Linked DNA regions of Homo sapiens: region 2 is linked to region 1. Evidence: promoter capture Hi-C in 16 types of primary human blood cells and fetal thymus (Javierre and others, 2016). All regions are on one chromosome and are shown on one strand. The core of a region is centred on a gene start or on the middle of the fragment in contact, and the rest is flanking DNA. Distances in the headings are between cores, read along the strand shown. Region 1 holds the start of SNW1 (SNW domain containing 1). Region 2 overlaps SEL1L (SEL1L adaptor subunit of SYVN1 ubiquitin ligase).

Region 1 (7,761 bases), core at 2,268-4,767:
TAAACATTGAGAGGGCACGTAAAACACATCCAAAAAGTAAGAACGGTGTGGTGGAGCAGCTCTACTTTTTATCAGAGAATGATTATAATAATATAGCCATAATAACTAAAGCATAATGGCATCAGAGCATAAAATACTGGCATTGAAGTAAATTTAAAAAAACATCCTATAGTAGAAAATGTTAGTGGGAAGGTACCCCAGAAATAAAATTGAGTTCAACTGCCTCACTTTGCAGATGCAAAACCTGAACCTTAATAAATTAAGGCCAATTCATTAAAGCCAGAAAGCATAATTAATTTTTGAGCGCTTACTCTATGCTGGGCATTTTTCTAAGCACTTCACATGATTAACTCATTTAATCCTCCCAATAGCTTTATTGAGGATAAGTTATACTGATTCCACGCCCCTCACCCTTTTTATTGGCCAGTGAGAAAACTGAGACAGAGAGAAGTGACTTATCCAGAATCTACAGCTCATAAATTAGGGAGCTGGGATCAGAAGGCAGGAAAGCTGACTCCAGAATATGTGCTTAACTTGTCCTCCCTACCACCTCACAAGCTATATTACTTGTGGCTACATAGCCACACCTACTTAGGAATCAAATTAGGCCCTAGGTTCTCTGAGAACAATTCTACTCTCTATCCAGAATTCTAAGACTGGAGTGAATTGATTGCTTCTTGCAACCTGGCGCATTACTGATTCCAGCATGCACTGGGCTCTCTACATGAGCAGGCAGCTGCTAATTACCTATGATAATGAGGGATGGATAGGCACTGAAGATTCAGCATAGCTTAACACCAAACCCCCTCCCCAACAAAACCAAAGAAAGCACTAGGCCTTTGGGTATAATATTGTATCACGTTTGCAGTAGATTTGCTTTCTTAATTGTTTTGATAGGATTGCTATTAAAGTCAGTTTCTATTCTTTACACACCCCCAAAACAGCGAGGGACTATGACTGGTGGAAATGCCTTGCATGATGTGCCTCTGTGGAAAATGAGAGTGGATTGCAAAAGCTCTTCTCCACCCTGTTCTTTCAATCCTGCATCCCAGGTCTTGGTCTATGTCTTACTGATTTCCCATGTTAATTATTTTAACCTTGTCCTCAGTAGCCTCCTTTGTCTCTCATTGCCATAGAAACCCATTCTGCCTTAAGAATTGTCTTTCTTGCCTGTTCCTTTGACCCAGGCCCTCTACTTAAGTCCTCCTTCAGCTGCAAATCACCTGCTGAACTAAATCTAAGCTCCTTGATCTTGGCTTCCAGGACGTTCTATAATTTGCTTCTCTGTTTTTCTCCTTTTAGAAATAATACATTCCTGGAGCAGAGGTTGAAGTAGATCACTGTCAACCAAAATATTAACTGTAATAACTAACATATTTACATAGTACTTAAGAGTTAAGTAAAAACATATCCACCTACATTACCTCATTTAAGGCTCATACTCTGCTGTATTGTATATAATTATTTTACATTTATATAAATATAGGTAAAGCAGATAACATGATCAGCATTTTAAGTTCAATAAAACTGGGGCCCAAATAAATTAAATGACTTGCCCTATAAGAATTTATTGGTGCTGAAGCTACATCTTTTTTTTTTTTTTTTTTTTTTCTGAGACAGTTTCACTCTTGTTGCTCAGGCTAGAGTGCAACGACGCACGATCTCGGCTCACCACAACTTCCGCCTCCCGAGTTCAAGCGATTCTCCTGCCTCGGCCTCCCGAGTAGCTGGGATTACAGGCAAGCACCACCACGCCCGGCTAATTTTGTATTTTCAGTAGAGACGCAGTTTCTCCATGTTGGTCAGGCTGGTCTCAAACTCCCGACCTCAGGTGATCTGCCCGCCTCAGCCTCCCAAAGTGCTGGGATTAAAGGCACAAGCCACCACACCCAGCCAAAGCTACATCTTAAACTCTAATCTTCGGGCTCCCAGGCCATGCAGGTTATATTACACAATGTGATTAACAATCCTGTATTTACCAAAAGATTTTTTCTTTTTGTTTTTTTGGTTTACATGCTGTGGCAGGCAGAATTCTAGGATATCCCCCAAGATCTCCTCCTCACCCAACCCCCACAGTACCTGACCTACATAACCCCTGGGGCCATGACTATGAAGATTCTGATTCTGTTATGCGGTGTGGCAGAGTTGATTTTTTTTTTTTTTTTGAGACAGAATTTTACTTTGTCACCCACGCTGGAGTGCAATGGTGCAATCTCGGCTCACTGCAACCTCCACCTCCTGGGTTCAAGCGATTCTTGTACCTCAGCCTCCCAAGTAGCTGAGAAAACAAGAGCACATCACCACACCCAGCTATTCTTTTATATTATTTATTTATTTATTTATTTATTTATTTTTATTTTTTGAGACGCAGTCTCACTCTGTCGCCAGGCTGGAGTGCAGTGGCGTGATCTTGGCTCACTGCAACCTCCGTCTCCTGATTCACACGATTCTCCTGCCTCAGCCTCCCCAGTAGCTAGGACTACAGGAGCGCGCCACAACGCCCAGCTAATTTTTGTATTTTTAGTAGAGACAGGGTTTCACCATGTTGCCCAGGCTTTGTCGAACTCCTGAGCTCAGGCAATCCGCCCGCCCCGACCTCCCAAAGTGCTAGGATTACAAGTGTGAGCTACTGCGCCCGGCCAAGAGTTGATCTTAAAATAGGGAGATTATCCAGGTGCTCCTGATCTAATCACATGAGCCCTTTAAAAGCAGGGCATTTTTCTCCAACAGTGGCAGAAGAGGAGTCAGAAAGATGTGCCTCAGAAAGCAAATATCCATGTTGTGAACTACCAATAAATAGGGCTCATGTGGGAAGGACTCGAGAGTGACCCCTAGGAGCTGAGGGTGGCCACCACTAACAGCACAAAACAAAACAGGGAACTCGATCCCACAACCGCCAGGAACTGATTTTTGCCAACAAGAATGAGTTAGGAGATGGATTTTTCTCCAGAGCCTCCTATGAGATTTCAGCCTTGTCATACCCTGGGCAGAGAACCCAGACACTCGGTAAATTACCAAGGATTACGAAATATCTCCCCAAGAGAGTGTTTTGGCGGGTGAGAGGATATGGTTTAAAGAAAAGTTTTGAGTGTGAATGTTTTCAGAGAGTCCAAGGACTCTCCATTAGCTAGTCTCATTATTACCTGTCGTTTTAAACGCCCTATCACTCTTACTTAAAGTAGCTGTCCCCGGGAAGCTTTTGTATTTTGTACCCCTTCTCGGGGAACGGGACTGAGTAAGGAACGTAATAAAGCGGCCTAAAAGGCATCTCCCTGTATCTTTGATATTTTGCCTAGGGAACGCCCTATCATGTCGCATATAAGCGATCGAGTTATGCATTTGTTGCTAGCTGAAGAGATTATTCCTTGATAACCGCTTGGTCTGGTCAGAATACAAACGGTACTCCTGTTCAAAGAACTACAAATCCCAGAAGGCCTTTTCGGCCAGAGCGCCTGCGCATCGCGCACTCCTTCCTTTCCGCTCCTCATCATCTGGAAAGACCCGCCCAGCGGTGCTGTCGCTCGCGCTGGAAGAAGCGGAAGAAGATGGCGCTCACCAGGTGGGTTGTTGATTGGGGTCCTCGATACGGAAGGGTCTGGGAGTACCAGTCTTCTTCATTTCTCTTCCCATACCCTCCGGGCGGTGACCTGACCCGGGGCACAGAATGACGTGGGCCAAGACTACGGCTACGCCCTCCCGCTGGCCGCCGCTACGACTAGGCCTAGTCGAAGCTGGGGTCTTTCAGCGGTTTCCCGGGTTTAGTTCACCCGCTCACCGAGGCCGAAAGCTGCGGAGTGGTCTCAGACACTGAAGAGTGGGTTTTTCGCGTGAGCATCTTGCGGGGAGCGGACAGCGCTCCCTCAGGTCCGCGGCTCGGGCGAACGAGATGGGGTTGGTGACGGTAGTGGCTTATTTGGGCGGAGTGAAGCGCGCGGGCTGCGACTGCGCGGCTTTCCGGCCGTTTGCCTGTGGTGGTCTCTCTCCTTTCGCTGTCCACTGGGTGTCCCGAAACAAGGATTCCTGAAAAAAGAGGCCCGGAGCTGAACACAGATTTAAATGAGCCACAGTAGTGACCGCCGTCTGCTGATATGCGCCACTGCTCCGCATTTTAACTTTGGAGCTTAGAATTTCTTCCGTAGATAGAACCACCTCAGTTTTGCTGTTTCCGGTTACCTTAGTAACCGTCTGTAAAGTGCTCTCCGCCTTTAAGAAAAAGATGCTTTTCAGTGGGAGAGTCCGAGAAGTTACGCTACTCCTACTAGTTCCCAGCCTTGCTGCCCCATTTTAAGTGGAAAAACTTTCCATGCGAACTCAACAGGAAAAGGCTAGTGTTCAGGAAGGTTATAGATAAAGTAATCCTTTCAGGACATCAGCTTGAGCTCTTTTAACACCCTTCATTCTCCTCACGCATGTTTTTTTTTCTGGCTGATGACAGTATGACTCCAAAAGTTTTAATCAAAAAATTATTTTGGGAATTACTGTTGGTGCCTTGCTCTGTCCTGGGGGTTGTGTACACAGAAGAAAATCTGTCTTTGGCAACAGGGAAGATAGGGGTGCAAGGTATACAGACATAAAACAATTACAGAACACAAAATGTGCATTTGTGTAATACTAACCTTAGTGCAAAAAGAATTGAATGGAATAAGTTATGTGGGCTGGAGAGTTTTCTCCCCACCCTCGTTTCTAAAATTTTTTTGCTTTTTTTTTTAACTTTATTTTTTGAGATGCGGTCTCGCTGTGTTGGCCAGGTTGGTCTTGAATTCTTGGCCTCAAGCAGTCCTCCTGTCTCGGCCTCCGAAAGTGCTAGGATTACAGGCATGAGCCACCATGCCCGGCATCTGAAATTTTTTTAAAAAAAAACTAGAAATAGGGTGTTACTGCGTTGGCCAGAGTGGTCTCCAACTCTTGGCCTCCATCAATCTTCTCACCTAGGCCTCCCAAAGTGCTGGGATTGCAGGCATGAGCTACCATGCCCAGCCAAGAGTTTGTTTAGTAAATGTTACAGGCAGCAAACATTTGAGTGCTCCCCAGGTGTGAGACACTGTGTCATAGACTAGTAAAGTTATGAGGGGAGACTTTGTGGAAAAGGTGGAATTTGAAATGGACACACAGGAAAAATTTCTAGAGATGTCATGGGTATTTTTTATTTATTTTATTTTTTGATATAGGGTCTCACTCTTGCCCAGGCTGGAGTGCAGTGGCCCAATCACAGCCCACTGCAGCCTCAACCTCCCAAGGCTCAGGTGATCCTCCTGCCTCAGCGCCCTAGAGTAGCTGGGACTCTAGACGCTTGCCATGATGCCCAGTTAATTTTTGTTTTTTTTAGTAGAGATGGGGTTTTGCCATGTTGCCCAGCCTGGTCTTGAACTGGGCTTAACTGATCTGATCTACCCATCTCAGCCTCCCACAGTGCTGGCATTACTGGCGTGAGCCACCACATCATCTGGCCTGTCATGGGTATTGCGTGCTTAAAATTGCAGTGGCAGAATGCGATCTTTAAATGGCCAGTCTTGAGGACTCCAGAGCTTTCCATACCTACCATCTGGTGTTCCTCAGTATTCTTTGTAATATCCTTTAAATCAGTAAACACATTTCCCTGAGTTCTGTGAGCTGCCCTAGCAAATTAGTTGAACCTGAAGATGAGGTCATGGGAACCCTGGTTTGTAGTTAGTTGGCCAGTGGCCTTGGACCTACTGTTGGCATCTGAAGTAAGGGCAGTCTTGTGGGACTGAGCCTTCAACCTGTAACATCTGACAGTATCTCCAGGTAGATAACATCAAAATTGAATTGAATTAGAGGACACTTGACTGGTGTCCAGTAGACACAGTTGATAGCTTGCTTGATATGTGGGGAAAAACCATCACACATCTGGTATCAGAAGTGTTGTGTGTTGTTGATTGTTGAGTGAAATAATAGGAGAAACTGAGTTTGTTTTAATTTTATACTCTATCCACATGGAGCTTACACTCTAATGGGACAGAATTGGAATTCTAGTGGGACAGAATTCTAATTAGCTTACATTCTAATGGGACAGAGTGAGTAAAATCATAATGCAATTTCACGTAATACATGCTAGGAATAAAATAAAGACCGGGTTAGAGAGTGACTCAGAGTTTGGGGTGAAGTGGCTATTTTGGGTAAGGTGGTCAGAAAACAGCTCTAGAGAGAGGTAACTGAGCAGAGACAAGAGTGCTGAGATGCAAGCTGTTGAAAGATCTGGGGCTACTCTAGGCATACTGCCTGTGGGATAGCCCTGCCCAGCAAGGAGCAATCAAAAAAGAAAAGATCTGGAGATCTGGAGAAGAATTTTCTATAAAAGCATACGAAAATTTGTTCTTTTTTTTTTTTTTTTTTTTTGTGGCAGAGTCTCACTCTCACCCAGGCTGGAGTGCAGTGGAGCAATCTCAGCTCACTACAAACTCCACCTCCCAGGTTCAAGTGATTTTCCTGCCTCAGCTGGGATTACAGGCGTCCGCCACCACGCCCGGCTAATTTTTGTGTTTTTAATAGAGACAGGGTTTCACTATATTGGCATGGCTGGTCTCGAACTCCTGGCCTCAAGTAATCCACCTGCCTTGGCCTCCCAAAGTGTTGGAATTACAGGTGTGAGCCACCTCGCCCAGCCGGAAAAATTGTGATTGATTGCAATAGATAGATAGATAGAGAAAAATTGTGATTGATTGATTGCAATAGAGAAAAATTGTGATTGATTGATTGCGATAGATAGATAGATAGATAGATAGATAGATAGATGATTAGATTGATTTGATGGCAGAAGGAATAGCCAATGTAAAGATCCTGAGATGGCTTGTTTAAGAAAAGATAAGAAGGCTGTAGTGAAATAAAGATGGTGAGTGCTGGGGAAGAGTGTATTTATTTCTCCTACAACATTTAAGGAGCTCGAGCTGTGAGCTAGAAGTCTTGGAGCATTAGGGATGAAAGAAGCATAAGGCGTGATTCCTGCAGAGCTGCTCACAGTCTCATGAAAACAGAATAGTTAAATGAGTAGATGATTGCAATACAGTAAGGTAATGTTGTAGTAGTGGTATGTAGAGCGTTTTGGGGGAGCATAGAGACAGGCAGTTAACCCAAACTGGAGGAGTCATGGAACAGCCCTGAAATAATCAAACATACAGAACCTGTATTGAAAGTGTCTAGATACTATACCAACTGGTTCATGGATTTCTCTCATTTAATACTTATAAGAACCTTATGAAGTAGATACTCTTATGAACTATTATTACAGATGAGAAAACAGATTCAGAGAGGTAAGTAGCTTATCCAGGTTAGTAAGTGGCATAGGTCGGATCTGAATTCTGAGCCTAGCCATCACTTACCTCCCCAGACTGGATTAGATCCCTCTCATGTAGACTGTCATAGCATCTATATTTTTCCATCATAACTTAACATAATGTGTAATTATAGATTTGTGTGATTTTTTTTTTTTTGGTCTCTGTCTGCAAGACTAAGCTGTCTTTCTCCATTTATAGTCTCATGCCTAGCATAGTGCTTGTACCCAAATAATAAATATTTTTGAATAATTAATAAGCTCTGCTACTTAGGTATGCTTACTATCCAAGAATCACAAAGGAACTAAGGTTATTTTCTCCATATTCATCCATCAGGATCCTTTTGTAATACTTTGGAGTATCACTGTAATACTTTAATACTTAAAAGTTGTTAAGAACCATTTAGTAGAAAGGTTACCTTGACTAAAGAATAAGCTGCATCTTCAGGGCTTCTGCTTTGATTCTTTGGCCT
Region 2 (7,761 bases), core at 3,069-5,568, 3.8 Mb before region 1:
ATGGTAGCACACTTTTTAAAAAATAAATTTAGTGTAGTTTAAGTGTACAGTGTTTACAATAGTGTATAGTAACATCCTAGGCTTCACATTCACTCACTCACTCACCCACAGCAACTCTTAATCCTGCAAGTTCCATTTATGGTAAGTGCCCTAGACAGGTATATGTTTTGTAATCTTTTACACCATATTTTCACTGTAGCTTTTCTATGTTTAGCTATGTTTATGTACACAAATACTTACTGTTATGTTACAGTTGCCTACAGTAGTCTGTATAGTCACATGCTGTACAGATTTGTAGCTTAGGAACAACAGGCTACACTATGTAGCCCAGGTATGTAGAAGGCTATCCCATTTAGGTTTAAGTATACAAAAAGGAAATCGCCCAGTGATACACTTTTCAGAACATATCCTCGTCATTGACACATGGCTAATATTAGAAACATTTTCTCTTTTCTATTAATAAATTTAAAGGAGGACACTAAAAAGATATTTCTTCATTTTCTCAGGATAATAGTGAAAAGGTTATAATTTTTCTCACAAATGCATGCTTTCTTATTTTTGGCAGAAGAGGCAAATGGCTTAACCTTTTTTTTTCTTTGTGCCAAGCAGTGTTAGTCATTTTAGTTAGGTCCACTGCCAGGTATTTCAGGTAATAATTATAAATTCAGAGAGTAGTTTTCAGACAGCAGAGGATGTTTAATTTCACTGTTTTGGTCGTTCCTTAAAATATTGTGAGTCAGCGGGACAGAGGTGTTACCCCTTTTGACAGATTGAGAAACAGAGGCTGAGCAAGCTTTTGTTACTGAACCATGTGTCAGAATTAACATGTGATGAAGCCAGGTTCCAGACCTAGCTCTCCAGGTCTCAGAATTGAAGAAATTTAGAATCGAGAGTATCTTAGGATCTGTACCAATTTAGAGCTAAAGCAGAGAACAGGATATCTGGTCTGTTTTCACCAAACTATTTAGACTTTCTGTGTTTAAAGGTTATCAGTCTGTTTAATTTACGTGATGAATGGAAAAATGATTTTGTAGTGATCACTTTTCCCTGAAAGCATATCTCTGGTACTTTGCAGTTTTGTTAGCTAATACAATAAAAATAAAAACTGGTCCTTTTCAAAGGAAGGTGTACAGTTAATAAAATAATATGAACCATTTGGATGTGATGCTGATGAGCGAGAAGCGCATAACTTAATCCTTTTGCATTTTTTTCTTGTTGCTTGATATCTGTGTTCTGATGAAAACATTACTGTTTGCTTTTTATTTATGCATAACTTCAGTCTCTTTAATCCTTACCTGAATACTACTTATCAGAAGTTCCTAGGTTATAAACAACTCTTTAAAAAGTGTTGTGTGAATGTTTATATCAGTTTGAAAAAGAAAATAGCTTATGCTTTGAGACTACCATCTGGAGTAGGCTTTCCCAGTTTAGTAACTGAGAATTATCTTATTCACCAGTAATATTAGCATATAGTCCAGGTTGCGAAGAGAGAGGGAGAGAAAGAGAAGCATGATGCAATTCACATGAAATAACTCTGATGTTACAAATCATGTTTCTTGGAGTTTGAAAACACGTTTTGCTACTCTAATGCCTAACAGCTTGTGCTGTGTGAAATGTACATGTCTTTAAGTGTATTTACAGATGTGTCCATATGATTCACCTGTTAGCTACCTATGTAACCTGTTGTGGTGAGGTACTAAATGTAGCAATGTAGTGATAGTGATTTAGAGTTCCAGCTAATCTAAAGTTTCATTCAGTATTTGGGGGTATTTCATATATGTTTAAACATTTAATATCTGTTTTGATATATTAACTAGTTGAAGTTTGTGATTAATTACATATACTTACAGTACAACTTTGATATATTATAGAGATGGGTTTTTTAAATTTATCTAAAGATTTGCTGAGAATGGAATTTGAACCACATGTTAGAAATTGGGCTTTGGGTAATACTTGTGAAGAAGTTAGCATGAAGGACAATTGTTAATTAACTGACATCATTGCCTAATGTTATGGGCGCTGTGGGACTAATATGTGGCATACCCTTCTCTCCACCTGCCAGAAGTAAAACATACTTTGAAGGTAATCTAAAAGTAGGTGAATATGAATAGTAGCTGTAATTTAAATTTTCTTTGACTTGACAGCACTTTCATATATGGCAAAACCTCACTAATGGACTAGTTTCCTCAAATATTCGAAAGAAATATTGTGAGGTAGTGTCTTGTATTTTGTGCATAATTGAGTTGGTTATACTTCTTAGTCTTAACTCAGTACTTTGATAACAAACTCTAACACAGGTTTTTTGTTATATTTTAGAGTTGCAAATTACAAATGATATTTAGGATATAGCCATATGAAGTAAAGTATAAATGACAACTATAGTAGCAAATTTTCTAGTAAAAAATGACATGGTCTTACAGGGTTTTGTCTACTGGTTAATTTCTCATACAGCTTATGGAGCAGGTAAAACTGAAACTCACTCCTGAATAAAATCAGGTAATTTTAAGAGCAAGAGGGAAACTTAAAGATGATCTGACAGATTCGCTGTTTTAAACTGGCAAGGAATACAAAAATCAAGCATTTCCATCTGAACATTGAGTTGTTGCATGTGTTTATGTAAGAGCAGGAAGAAGAGTAACAAGCAGCCAGAAAAGTAATAGTCAGAAAACATGGAAAAAGTAACAGAAGGAAAATTAATGTAATCAGACAACACCAAAGCAGGCTGTGTGAATGTGTAAGCAAGGTGTAACCGGTGGCTGTTTTTCATTGTTTAATGTAAGTTATTGATTTCTTACTACATAGCTCTCAATTGAGTGAATATATGATAGGACCATGCTGCTTTTTACCTGCATCTGGTTATCTCTGAGTAGAGTAGAACACAAATCCTAAATATAATTGTTTTGCAACTCTGCTATCAAATAATAATTCTTAGTTTCCATCCTTACTATAGTAGTAAACAATACAAATACTAATGAGCACTAAAATGGGCTACTCTAACTCAAGATCCTGAGCAGACAAACAGAATAGGTGGAAGCCCGGAGTATGAAATTAGAGATTTATTTTTATGAACTTAGTAACTCATTCTCAGAAATAGACTAAATAGACCCACAAGAATTGGATGGAATGTGAAGAAATACCTGTTTTTGTTGGTGGAGGCTGTTGGTCTTCCTACCTTTGTAACAGATGGAGCTAATGTCTTTTCTGGAGAAAGAGAGAAACTAAACCCCCAACCCATTTTTTTTTTCCTTTCACTTGATCTTTTCTGAACAATTGCTGAATATAGCTAACTTTAAAATAATTCTATGTTTATTTATCCAATGTTTGATTATTATTTGCTATACTTTTCACATGTTTTCTTTTAATAATAACTAATTTCCCAACAAGAAAGATTACTAAATTGTCTTAAAATTTCTTTGCAGATGAAGAAGGCAGCCAGGATGAATCCTTAGATTCCAAGGTATGTACTAAAATGTGTATTGGCCAGTATTTGCTGCCTGATTTAAAAGGATGAATTATGTATCTTAGAAAGGATATGAGGTCTGCAACTTTTGAGTAACAGTTGAATTAAAAAGGACAGAAAAAGACAGATGGTATTAGTATTAGTTCTAGTTTTTCTGGAGGAAGAAAAAATTACTGACCTACAAGAGGGAATAGTAAATATTTCATTTCAACTTGAATGTGCTCTGTGTGTGTGTGTGTGTGTGTGTGTGTGTGTGTGTAAGTTTGAAGATTTAACCTGTGTCATTTGTTTCCACTTTCCAGTTCTCAAAAATAAATCCAGTGAGCTAATGCACTTATTGGTTGATTGAGCTCTCCCTTCCAAGTACTAACCAAGCCCAACCCTGCAGTCAGTTATGAGCTCTGATCTTTAGATTTGAGGGAATGTAGATAAAAGCAGGAAGTAGAAGTATAAGGTATGTTGGGGGCATGTGGAGGAAAACCGAACCCAGACTTTGGGAATTAAGGAAGGCTTCTGGGGGAAGTAACATCTAAGTTGAAATTCAAAAAGGCTACAAGTTAGGTGATGAAGGAAGGCACGTGATGGACACATGCCAAAGCCTATAGAGATGAGTGAGTGTGGCACTTCAAGGAGCTGAAGGAGATGTGATATCTGGATTAGTAAAAATAACGGTCAAATAGGGTTGGGGAAAGTCTTGGCATTGTTGATAACTAAAAATACTTTATATTCTCAGACTACTTTGACATCAGATGAGTCAGTAAAGGACCATACTACTGCAGGCAGAGTAGTTGCTGGTCAAATATTTCTTGATTCAGAAGAATCTGAATTAGAATCCTCTATTCAAGAAGAGGAAGACAGCCTCAAGAGCCAAGAGGGGGAAAGTGTCACAGAAGATATCAGCTTTCTAGAGTCTCCAAATCCAGAAAACAAGGACTATGAAGAGCCAAAGAAAGTACGGAAACCAGGTAGTCTGGACATTTTCCTTGCTTTTTGATTTATTTAGGGGACAACTGAAAATTTTAAGCTAATGAATAAAGAGGCTGAAGAAGACTGGCTTCACTGATTATTACCCACAAATAATATATGGAGTGTAGTTTGGAGAGAATTTCTAGATTTTAATATACCAAAGTTATTCACTTAACAGATTTGACCCAAGTTACATAAGCTGAATTCAATAGATGAGATTGCATTTATCTTTTTATTAATATCCTGACGTTTCTTTTTGGAATCAAGTATGTAAATACATTTCTCACTGAGAAATTTAAAAAAATAATATGTCAGGGTAGCATACAAAACAGAAACTCAGGAAGAACTGTCTAACATGCCACTATGGTTATTTTCAGGATTGTGGTAGGATTATTACTACAATAACCTTGTCGATCATCCTAGGTAATTTGATTTAGGTGTTTATCCCTCAGCTGACGCTTGTGTGTACTTCCATCCTATTCTAACTTTCACAATCTTGAAACCTCTACTTTTCAATTTAAAACTTGACCTTTTTCACAATAGTCTTCTAAATATTAATCCTTTTAAAAATTATTAATGTATGCATTCTACCATGTCTTGTTGCCCTTCTGTCATTTATTATTTCAATGATCACTGCCTTATCTGTTTATTATTCCATTACTAACCACTCTCAGGAACTGATCCAAATTTGAACTTTTTAAAAAAATAGAATTTTTTTTTACTACAAATATACCATTCTCATGAATAGAAAACTATTTTTAAAAAATTAAAAGTACCTGAATCCCATCAACTAGAAATAACAGCTGCTCACATCATGGAGAATATTCTCTCAGGATTTTTTTAGGTGTATCAGTAGTTTTAAGAAAAGTAAATTGGGTCAAAATGTGTATTCTATGTTGCAGCCTGCATTTTGCACTTAACAGTTTACCATGAATGTTTTTCCATGTCATTTAGCTTATTTTCAATTTGATAGTTAATGGCTATAAAAAATTTTATTTGTAAATATATGGTACCATAAACCAAAACGTTTATGTTTTGCTGGGAGATCATTTTAGATGTATCTTTGTGCCTATCTGTGAAAATTTCCTTAGAATTCTTAAAGTAAATTTGCTGAATTGGATGTAAAAGTTTAAAAGACAGTAGATACACATTGTTAAATTGTTCTTCAGAAAAGTGATTCTGTTTACTTCCTCTGAAAATACCTCTTTCCCTGTACCTCACCCAAGTGTGTATTACCATTTTAAAATTTTTACTAAATATAATTTAATTCATTCTTCATTTTTTAATTAGGGATTTTTTTTTTTTTTTTTTAGTTTTTATATTTTTAGAGACATGGTCTCACTCTGTCACTCAGGCTGGAGTGCAGTGGCACGATCATAGTTCACTGCAGCCTTGAACTCAGGTGATCTCCCTCTTTGGCCTCCCAAAGTGCTGGGATTACAGGCATGAGACACTACATCAAGCCTGGGAAATTTTTAAACATGCATAAAAGTAGAGGGTAAAATGACACCCCTTACCAACCCTCACTCAGCTTCAATAAACATCAACATTCTGCTGGTCTTTTCATCTTTACTACCCTACACACATTTGCCCTTTTTTTCTTTCCTAGAATATTTTAAGGCAAATTCCGCATGTGCTTTTACATCTCTGTGTCTCTCTCTAGTAAGAATGTTCTTTTCAGCAAAATCACAGAATTAGCCATTACTCCTTTATTACCTAATACCCAGACTGTTTAATTTTTCTAGTTGCTTCAAGTGTCTGTTTACAATTTATTTGTTTGAATTCATTTCTAAGCTAAGACCTAGGTTTCTCTTAATCTGTTGCTGTTCTCCCTCTTTTGTTGTTGTTCTTTTTTTTTGAGACAGAGTCTTGCACTGTTGCCCAGTCTGGAGTGCAATGGCATGACCTTGGCTTACTGCAGCCTCCACCTCCCGGGTTCAAGAGATTCTCCTGCCCCAGCCTCCTGAGTAGCTGGGATACCAGGCGCGTACCACCATGCCTGGCTAATTTTCTTCTATTTTTAGTAGAGTTGGGGTTTCACCATGTTGGCCAGGCTGGTCTCGAACTCCTGACCTTAAGTGATCTGCCCACCTTGGCCTCCCACAGTGCTGGGATTACAGGCGTGAGCCACCGCACCCAGCCCCTCCTTTGTTTTTAAGTGTCATTTTATTTGCTAAAGAAATATGCAGTATCCTTTGTGCTATACAGTTTCCCACGTTTTGGATCTTGCTGGTCATGAACTTGTAATGTCATTGAGCTTGTTCCATTATCTGCTGTTTATTCTATAAACTGGGAGTTAGTTCTAGAGACATGGGTAGATTTGGTTCTGTCTTTTTATTGAGAGTATTTCATAGGTAGGTGGTGGTGTGTACTTTCTGTTGCTTTACATTGAGAGACATGTAGTGTCTGATTTTTCCACTTTTACTGATGTTAAGATTAATTAGCGAGGTCAGGTGGTATCACCCTGATCTCACCATTCTAAAGTTCCTCATTAATCTTTTGCCTAGGGGTTTTGGCAACCATTTATGTTTGTTGCCTGGATCTTTTAATTATTAGGGGTTGCAAAATGGTGACTTTCTAATTCTACCATTCCTCCTGCATTTGTTACCTGGGATTCTTTTATAAAGAATTTTCTCTCATCAAGTCTTTGATTACCCTGAAATATAGTCTCATCCAGAGAAAGCTAGATAAATTCTTATTTCCTTTGCACTGTTGTGAAATGAAAATTTGGTGCCCAAGCAATCTCTGAAAGAGACTAATGAGTATGTTTTTGTTTGTTTGTATTTGTTTTGTTTTGCTTTGTATTTGAGCATTGTAAGGATATAGTAAAAACCAAACCAAGGTGTGTTTTTCTTTCTCTTTCTCACTGAGTTAACACTTCTGACACCAGATATGTTGTGGGTATTTCCCCACATACCAAGTAAGCAATCAGTTCTGCAGAGGATTCTCCATCAGAGACCAGCAGGATGTCTGCTGATTTAATTCAATTCTGACACTACCTGGAGATAGCATTAGATCTCACAAGTTTAGGGCTCAGTCTCACAAGACCAGTCCCCGCTACTTGAGATGCCAATCATAAGCCCCGGGTTGTCTGTGCTTCTGACAGACTGGCTATAAATCAGGGTTCCCACAACCCCCTTCTTGGGTTCAATTAATTTGCTAGCACTTAGGACTCTGGGAAGCATGATAAATGGGTAAATGTAAATATAAATTTACATTTATTATAAAGGATATTACAAAGGATAGAGACGAAAAGCCAGATGGAAGAGAGGTGTAGGGCAAGGTATGGGAGAAGGACTGCAGAGCTTCCATGCCCACTCTGATCTGATCACGCC

What was found. The method cuts DNA at HindIII sites, captures the fragments that hold promoters and counts their contacts. A CHiCAGO score of 5 or more calls a contact.
Region 2: a fragment that was not itself captured here is called in contact with the fragment with the promoter of SNW1 in region 1 in 1 of 17 cell types (non-activated CD4 T cells); the score reaches 5.5 in non-activated CD4 T cells.

Annotation. Positions count from the first base shown.
Region 1 is chr14:77,756,912-77,764,672 of GRCh38, reverse strand. SNW1 (SNW domain containing 1) reads left to right here and starts at 3,517. Exons shown (of 14, transcript NM_012245.3): 1 at 3,517-3,559. The coding sequence starts at 3,546. SLIRP-OT1 (SLIRP overlapping transcript 1) reads right to left here and starts at 3,905. Exons shown (of 2, transcript NR_161324.1): 1 at 3,557-3,905. RefSeq lists enhancers at 2,004-2,778, 3,326-3,645, 3,553-4,327. The HindIII fragment of the contact is 7,128 bases long and covers 3,199-7,761 here.
Region 2 is chr14:81,523,397-81,531,157 of GRCh38, reverse strand. It overlaps SEL1L (SEL1L adaptor subunit of SYVN1 ubiquitin ligase), which reads left to right. Exons shown (of 21, transcript NM_005065.6): 2 at 3,420-3,457; 3 at 4,194-4,425. Among named protein-coding and RNA genes, the nearest start is that of SEL1L, 6.6 kb to the left of the region's middle. The HindIII fragment of the contact is 7,046 bases long and covers 796-7,761 here.